2 separate regions of the Homo sapiens genome follow, and region 2 is linked to region 1. Evidence: promoter capture Hi-C in human tissues and cell types (Jung and others, 2019). All regions are on one chromosome and are shown on one strand. The core of a region is centred on a gene start or on the middle of the fragment in contact, and the rest is flanking DNA. Distances in the headings are between cores, read along the strand shown.

What was found. The method cuts DNA at HindIII sites, captures the fragments that hold promoters and counts their contacts. A contact is called where the count stands out against the background at its distance.
Region 2: a contact is called between a fragment that was not itself captured here and the fragment with the promoter of C15orf39 in region 1, in 3 of the 25 tissues and cell types used here (dorsolateral prefrontal cortex, lymphoblastoid cells and spleen).

What each region holds. Positions count from the first base shown.
Region 1 is chr15:75,200,119-75,203,620 of GRCh38, reverse strand. It overlaps C15orf39 (chromosome 15 open reading frame 39), which reads right to left and starts at 1,739. Exons shown (of 3, transcript NM_015492.5): 1 at 1,562-1,739. RefSeq lists silencers at 603-652, 773-1,932 and enhancers at 1,414-2,136, 3,403-3,502. The HindIII fragment of the contact is 11,571 bases long and covers 1-3,502 here.
Region 2 is chr15:75,038,876-75,042,377 of GRCh38, reverse strand. All of the region lies in intron 2 of PPCDC (phosphopantothenoylcysteine decarboxylase), which reads right to left. Among named protein-coding and RNA genes, the nearest start is that of PPCDC, 17 kb to the right of the region's middle. The HindIII fragment of the contact is 3,829 bases long and covers 1-3,479 here.

The sequences.
Region 1 (3,502 bases), core at 490-2,989:
CAATAGACAGGAAACCACCTGGGACCCTCAGGAGTCTTTGTGGGAGGGGTGGCGGCTTCAGGGAGCCAACAGAGAACTCTTAGGGGTGTGGGAATGACCTGATCTCCTGCCAGTAGGAGGTGGAAAGCCCAGGATACACTCTCTCAAGGGAGACGACTCCTCCACTCAAGACAGTTGCCAAAATGTAGGTGCCTCCTTCCCTGACCCATACTGAGGCAAGCAAGCTCTCGGAAAGGGCAGGTGCCCAGGGAGCAGGCTCAGATCATCCTTGAGAGGCAGCTCTGTTGATCCTCTCTGCCAAGCTCCAACGTCACTCAGCCAGCACCCAGGCCAGGGTCCCGGAGAAGAGCCCACCACCGCAGCACCGCCCCTGCCTTACGCAGTGGGAAAGGAAACAGCTCTCTGTTCCCACTTTCACCTTCTAGGGGCCTCGGGATGGCCGATGGCAAAGACCAGGAAGAAGAGCGCGATTCCTGCCCAATTGTGGCCAGCATCTGGATTCTCCCGGAGGGCTGGATCGGGCCTCGCCGAGTGTTCTCCCATCTCCCACCTTCCCTACCTGAGGCTCTGGGCTCTCCAGACGCTACAACCCAACCTGGGGCAGCCCAAAGTCTCCAGTGGAGGGGAAAGCGAACGGGATCGGTCTCTATCCCCTTTCCCCTACCCGCCCTGAACATAACTCGGGTGCCTAGGGCCCACAGCCGATTTCGCTTAGAGGCTGCCGCCGCACCCGACCTGGCGGGCTTCCGGGTGTCCCCAAGCCCCTCCCGGCGGCGCCGAGACGCACGTGCATCCAGCAGGCTGACACACAGGCCGCCGCCACGCATGCAAACCCGTGCCTGCACGTACGTGCATGGCCCACATCTGCACACACGCCATTCCAGAACTGCGCTCTCCCCTCGCTCGGGCCCCGGGCATACGTGTGCACGCAGGCAGGCCCGCGCACCCAGCCCCACACCGACGCCCGCGGACCGGCGGGAGGTCCCGGAACAGGGGCGGCCCGGCGACAGGGTCCGGGCAGCCTCCGCCTCAGGGCGATCCTGCCAGCCTGGGCTGAGGCCAGAGGGGTGAGTCAAGAGGTGGCGAGAAAACCGCAGGGCCGTCCCATCCCAGCAGGGCGCGTCCAGGGCCCCGCGGTGCCTCAGCGCCCGGCGCCCCCAGGCCCAGCCCTCCAGTGCCCCCTTGTCCCCATACCTCCTCCTCAACGCCATCCCCCAGCAATCCACGTGACAGGGTCCTGCGGGAGGCCGGAGGGCTCGGCCTGAGTTCCTTCTCGCCAGATTAGGCGCCTGTTCTCCGCCGGAGACCCAGAGCGCTACCAGGTCCCGGGAGCCTCGAAGTCCGGGGAAAGTCGGAGCAGCAGCGCCACCCCTGCCCCGCAGCCCGTTCGCGGGGGGCCGGCGGCAGCCAGAAGCCGCAGCCCCTCGGCCCAGGCGCGGCTCCCTCAGTCCCCGGGCCGGCCGGTAGGGGCGCCCTGGGGCAGCGCCACCCGCCCCTTCTCCACGCGCCGCCCGCAAACTCGGCCCAAGTTTCCGCGCCCGCCGAGCGGGCGAGCTCCTACCTGCAGAGCGCCAGGACTCCCGCCGCCGCTACCCCAGGCGGCCTCCGCGTCCGCATCCTCCAGCGTCTCTCAGGCCGCGGGTCCTAGTCCGACCGGGCCCTGCGCGGGAAGTCGCAGTGAGCACCAAGCCCGGAGCAACCCTCCTAGCTGCCGTTCGCGCCGCCGCTGGGCGCCGTCTGCGGTCCCGGGCGGGGCGGGCTGGGGGCGGGGCGGGGGCGGGGCGACTCGCAGGGTTGGGGAAGAGCCCGGCCCCGCCTCTGGGAGCCTGCGCTCCTGTGGGCAGCGGGTGCGGAGGGCCCGCGTGGGGCCAGCTCGCTAGGAGCGGGCTGCGGGCGCTGTGCACCGCCCGTAACCGCCACGCTCCACGAACCAGTGCCCGGCGGGCCCGTCACGCGCCCTCAGTCGCTCCCTTAGATCGTTCATTCACTGCCACTTGCTGCGATGTGACCTTGCGCCTGCCGCTTGACCTCGCTGAGCTTCAGTTTCCTTATTTGCAAAAGTGGAATTCTGTCTTCCTCATAGCGGTGGCGGTGTAAGCTTGGAAAAGGGTGTTTGCAAATATCTGGCACACAGTAGGTGCCGGCATTCCCCTGTCCAGCACTAGTGTATTAGGGGGCTGGAGAAGGGCTCCTTGATCTGTCCCCTCATTTCGTTGTAGTCAATGAGGGCAATTTCCAGACTCCTGCTAGGGCACGGCAACTGTCTGAGGAAGCGGCAATCTCCCCATCCCTGGAAGGGCCGGGAATGAGGGTGCTGGGGGATTTGCAAAGTAGCCTGGGTGAGGCTCCCTCCATGAGGCAGACCGGCGCGCAGCCTGTGAGGCGGGTGGAGTGGAGCACGCCCAGCCAGGAATGGTGTGTTGCAAAGAGAGGCTGGAGGGGGGAAGGGGTGCCTCTCCCTGGACCATCTGACTGTGGATGAGAGCCCCTCAGTGCTGCTACTTTATCTGAAGGAATCTGGTCCGTCAAAGCTCCTGGGCTGCCCGAGGACTGGGAACAGGTGTGTGCAGTGGGGAAGGGGAGGGCAGGTGGACATGCCAAAGGTCAGAGTCAGTTCAGGAAGCAAAACTATCCCCTCAGATCCCAAAGGTAAGTTCTGCCTGAGTCAGAGCAGAGCAGGCCTGAGGCTGCAGGTTCCAAGAATCACCAAGCAGCTGGAGCAGCTGGAGCTGAGGAGGAGGGGCTGGGCGCTGCAGGTAGGAAGAGGAAGTGAGGTCACCTGGGGAGCGGGGGCGGGAGGTGGGGGGAGAGTGTCACTTCATTTAGAGCTGGAAGGACCTTAGAAATAGAGTCGGGAACCATATAGGGAGAGACACTCAGAGAGGGTTGGGGCTTTCCCCAGGTCACTCAGCAGGCTGGGACAAAATCCCAGATCTCCTGGCTCCCAGCCTGGGGCCCTTCCTGCAGCCACACCTTAGCGTCAGGAAAATACATCTGCGCGCGGACAGCTAGGGGTCACACCAAACATCATACCCTTAACCCCAGCCTGCAGCCCCGTGGGTCACAGGCTATTCACTGCTCTTGCCCCTTACCAACTCTGCTCGCCCCTCCTCCTCCAGCACCGCGCCGGCGACCCTGTCCCTGCCCTGCTAGTGGGGTGGAAGGAGGGCTGTGTTCTTAGCCCTTGGGGTCTAGGACGCTCAGGTTGTGTGCTCAGATGTGCCCAGTGGTCTCTCCAATTTCCCTGAGTTGGAATGGGACCCAACCAGGCCAGGATGAGCAGCCATCTGAGACAATAGGGGCTAGTTAAGATTTGCAGCACTGCTGAGCCTTGTGTTAATTCAGGGACACCTCACACAGACAGCAGCCCCACTCAACAGTATGTCTGTTCCTTTTCGGCATCACTTAAACACCCTGGACTGCCAAAGAAAGGAGGCAACACTGGGGGACTTGGGAGCTACTTTGTAACTTTCTGAGCCTCAAATTTCCTCATTGCAAAAAG
Region 2 (3,502 bases), core at 316-2,815, 160 kb after region 1:
CACCCAGCCTGTAAAACAAGATTTTAGACTAACGAGCTGGCAAAGTACAGGGGCCCAGAGGAAGTAGCTGTTGGGGAGAGGGGTGTATAGGGAACCACATCTTTGGGGGAAACCAATGAATCAGGAGAGGACATTTGTTTCTCTGGACATTTATCCAGAAGAAAGAAAAGTCAAGGGTGACAAGGACAGAACCATCAACCAGCCAGAGCTATAGTCATGGGCCATGTCTGGGCCAGACCCAGCCTATAGACATGCTGTTTGGCCTACACAAGATTATTAACATTTTTGAGCCAACATGTCCAAGTTGGAAGATTTCGCATAGAAAATTCAATTTCCTGAGTTCTTGTGAAAAGCTGAAGGCTAGGCGCTGCTGGACACACATTCCTACGTGAGAGCGACGTGGTGCCCTAAGGCCTGCCTCTCACTCTGTAGGACGTGCCCATGCCAATTCCACCTTGTCCTCATTCCTCCTTACTGTCTCTCTGAGGCACCCCCTCCTCGCTTGCTTCCTGCATATTGTACAGGGCAGGGTGGATGACACAGCGGCACAGCGCCTAGGAACAAAGCTAGGACCAAGGAGTAGAAGTCTCAGAGAAGAAGACTGAGGAAGAACTTCAGAAAGTCTGGCGTTCTGAGTTCTATTGACTTGTCCATTCTCCATCTCACTCCCCCTTAGGATCTACCATGCCCAGAACCTGCAAAAAAACCTCAAGGACCTTTTCAGAGGTCCATCACTTATTTATTTATTTACAGAGTCTTACTCCATTGCCCAGGATAGAGTGCAGTTGTGTGATCATGGCTCACTGCAGCCTCAACTGCCCTGGGCTCAGGTGATCCTCCCATCTCAGCCTCTTGAGTAGCTGGGACTACAGGTGCATGTCACCATGCCCAGCTAATTTTTTGTATTTTCGGTAGAGACAGTGTTTCACCATGTTGCCCAGAATTATCTCAAACTCCTAGGCTCAAGCAATCCACCCACCTTGGCCTCTCAAAGTGCTAGGATTACAAGCATGAACCACCATGCCCAGCCTAGAGGTCATTTAAACCAAACTCCCACTGAATGCTGGAGTCTCCCTAGGATGGCCCTGAATAAGCCTTGCCCAGTTCTGAGTAAGATGGCAAATGAGCAGGGCTGCATTATCCCTCCCCGGAACCCAGTCCTGGAGATGCCACTGGGCCAGCACAGGTTGGGAGAGCAGGGCAGGGCGGGGCCATGCTGAAGGCCCTGTCTCTTTCGTGGGGAAGACACAAGATAGTGATGAGGTAAAGAAGAGGGCACAATAAGTTATGGTAACCATAAGAAGAATAACCTTTACCTTTCAAACCCACAGAAGGAAATTCAATCTACACATAAAGGATACGAAAGGAGAAAAAGAAGCAGAGAGAATATATGATAAAGCATTTGGCCGGGAGCAGTAATGGGATTACGCTCATGCCTGTAATCCCAGCACTTTGGAAGGCCGAGACAGGCAGACTGCTTGAGCCCAGGAGTTCAACACCAGCCTGGGCAACATGGTGAGACCCCCATCTCTACAAAAAATACAAAAATTAGCCAGGCATGGTGGTGTGCGCCTGTAGTCCCAGCTATATTCGGGAAGCTGAAGTGGGCGGAGCCCTTGAGCCTGGGAAGGCAGAGGCTGCAGTGAGCAGAGATCAAGTTACTGCACTCCAGCCTGGGTGAAAGGGTGAGACCCTAACTCCAAAAAAAATAAAAAAATAAAAAAATAAAAAGCAAGCAAGCATTAAATAAGACAGCATAGGTAAATCCTAATATAATAATAATTATAGTAAATATATAACAGGCTCATCTTCTGTATTAAAATTCAGATTCTTATCTTGGATATTGTTTAATCCATCAATATCTTGTATAAAAAGATAAATTTAAAGCAAAAGAACATATAAAGGTTAAATAGAAGAAAAAGCTTTTAGTTAAATAAGGTAAACTCTGCTCCCTCCCAGAAGCCCATTAAAATAAAAGTAAAGTAATTTTTTTTAAAACGATCTAAACTCAGTGGCTCACGCCTGTAATCCCAGCACTTTGGGAGACTGAGGCAGGCAGATTGCTTGAGGCCAGGAGTTCAAGACCAGCCTGGGCAACGTGGTGAAACCACATCTCTAATACAAAAAAATTAGCCAGCATCGTGGCACACACCTATAGTCCCAGCTACTCTGGAGGCCAAGGTGGGAGGATCAGTTGAGCCCAGGAAGTCGAGGCTGCAGTGAGCCAAGATCATGCCACTGCACTCCAGCCTGGGTGACAAAGTGAGACCTTGTCAAGGAATAGAAGAGAAGAGAACGGCTGGGCATGGTGTCTCACGCCTGTAATCCCACTTTGGGAGGCTAAGGTGGGCAGATCACCTGAGGTGGGGAGGTCGAGATCAGCCTGACCAACAAGGAGAAACCCCATCTCTACTAAAAATACAAAATTAGCCGGGTGTGGTGGCGCATGCCTGTAATCCCAGCTACTCGGGAGGCTGAGGCAGGAGAATCGCTTGAACCTGGGAGGTGGAGGTTGCAGTGAGCTGAGATCGCACCATTGCACTCCAGCCTGGGCAACAAGAGTGAAACTCCATCTCAAAAAAAAAAAAACAAAGAAAGAAAAGAAGTAAATTCTCAAGAACAAAAAGAAGAGGAACCAACAGCAGTTAAGACGTGCCAATGCGCTTTCAGAAGATGGAAGCGAAAGGAAGCACTAGCAGAGCAGATCCTACAAGATAAGATTAGATTAGATGAGAAAAGAAAATATCCAAAGCCTACACAGTAACTGAGACACAAGCCAATTAGAGCCCAGGAGCCTAGGACTTGAGGCAGTGAGTACCACAAAGGTGAGCATGAGGCAGATAGCTGAATACAGGAGGACTTCCTGACCTGTAGAAGGAACAGCTAAAGTCCCCCCAGGTCTTCTTCCCACCCAAGGCAGCCAAACATACTACCCTTGCAGAGTTAGCACAACAGAGGTCAAAGGAGTCCTGGAGCAGAAGTGAGTATCTACAGACCAAACAGAGACCCAAGCCTGCTTCCCCTACTTGACCCTAAGAACGCAAGGTCAACCAGGCAGGAGACTACTGATAGGGTCCTTCTGGAAAAAACAAATAACCCTGGCAGTAGGGAGATGTGGTAGGGAAGGAAACCTTCAGATATGGAATTCAGAGGTCCACCAACAAAACATTTCAATACCAGATGAGTACCAAGTCCCTGGCAGTGAAGACAGAGTTTCCAATCAACTTTTGGCACCCAAATAAGAACAGCCAAGGAGTATCAGATATCTGAGGAGAGTCCTCTAGCAAGAAAGAGATTACACAAACAAACAGAAAATAGAAACCCAGAGACAATAGAGGGAGAAGAAAACTTAAAGATGAGAGACTACACCCAAGAAACAAGAACATAACACTTTTTAAAATGAGTATTCAAGGAACAAAAAAGAACTCTTAGAAATTAACATTATAAACAGTGAAATAAAAAATTCAACACAAGTCTAAAAGAAATCTTCCAGAAAGGAGAA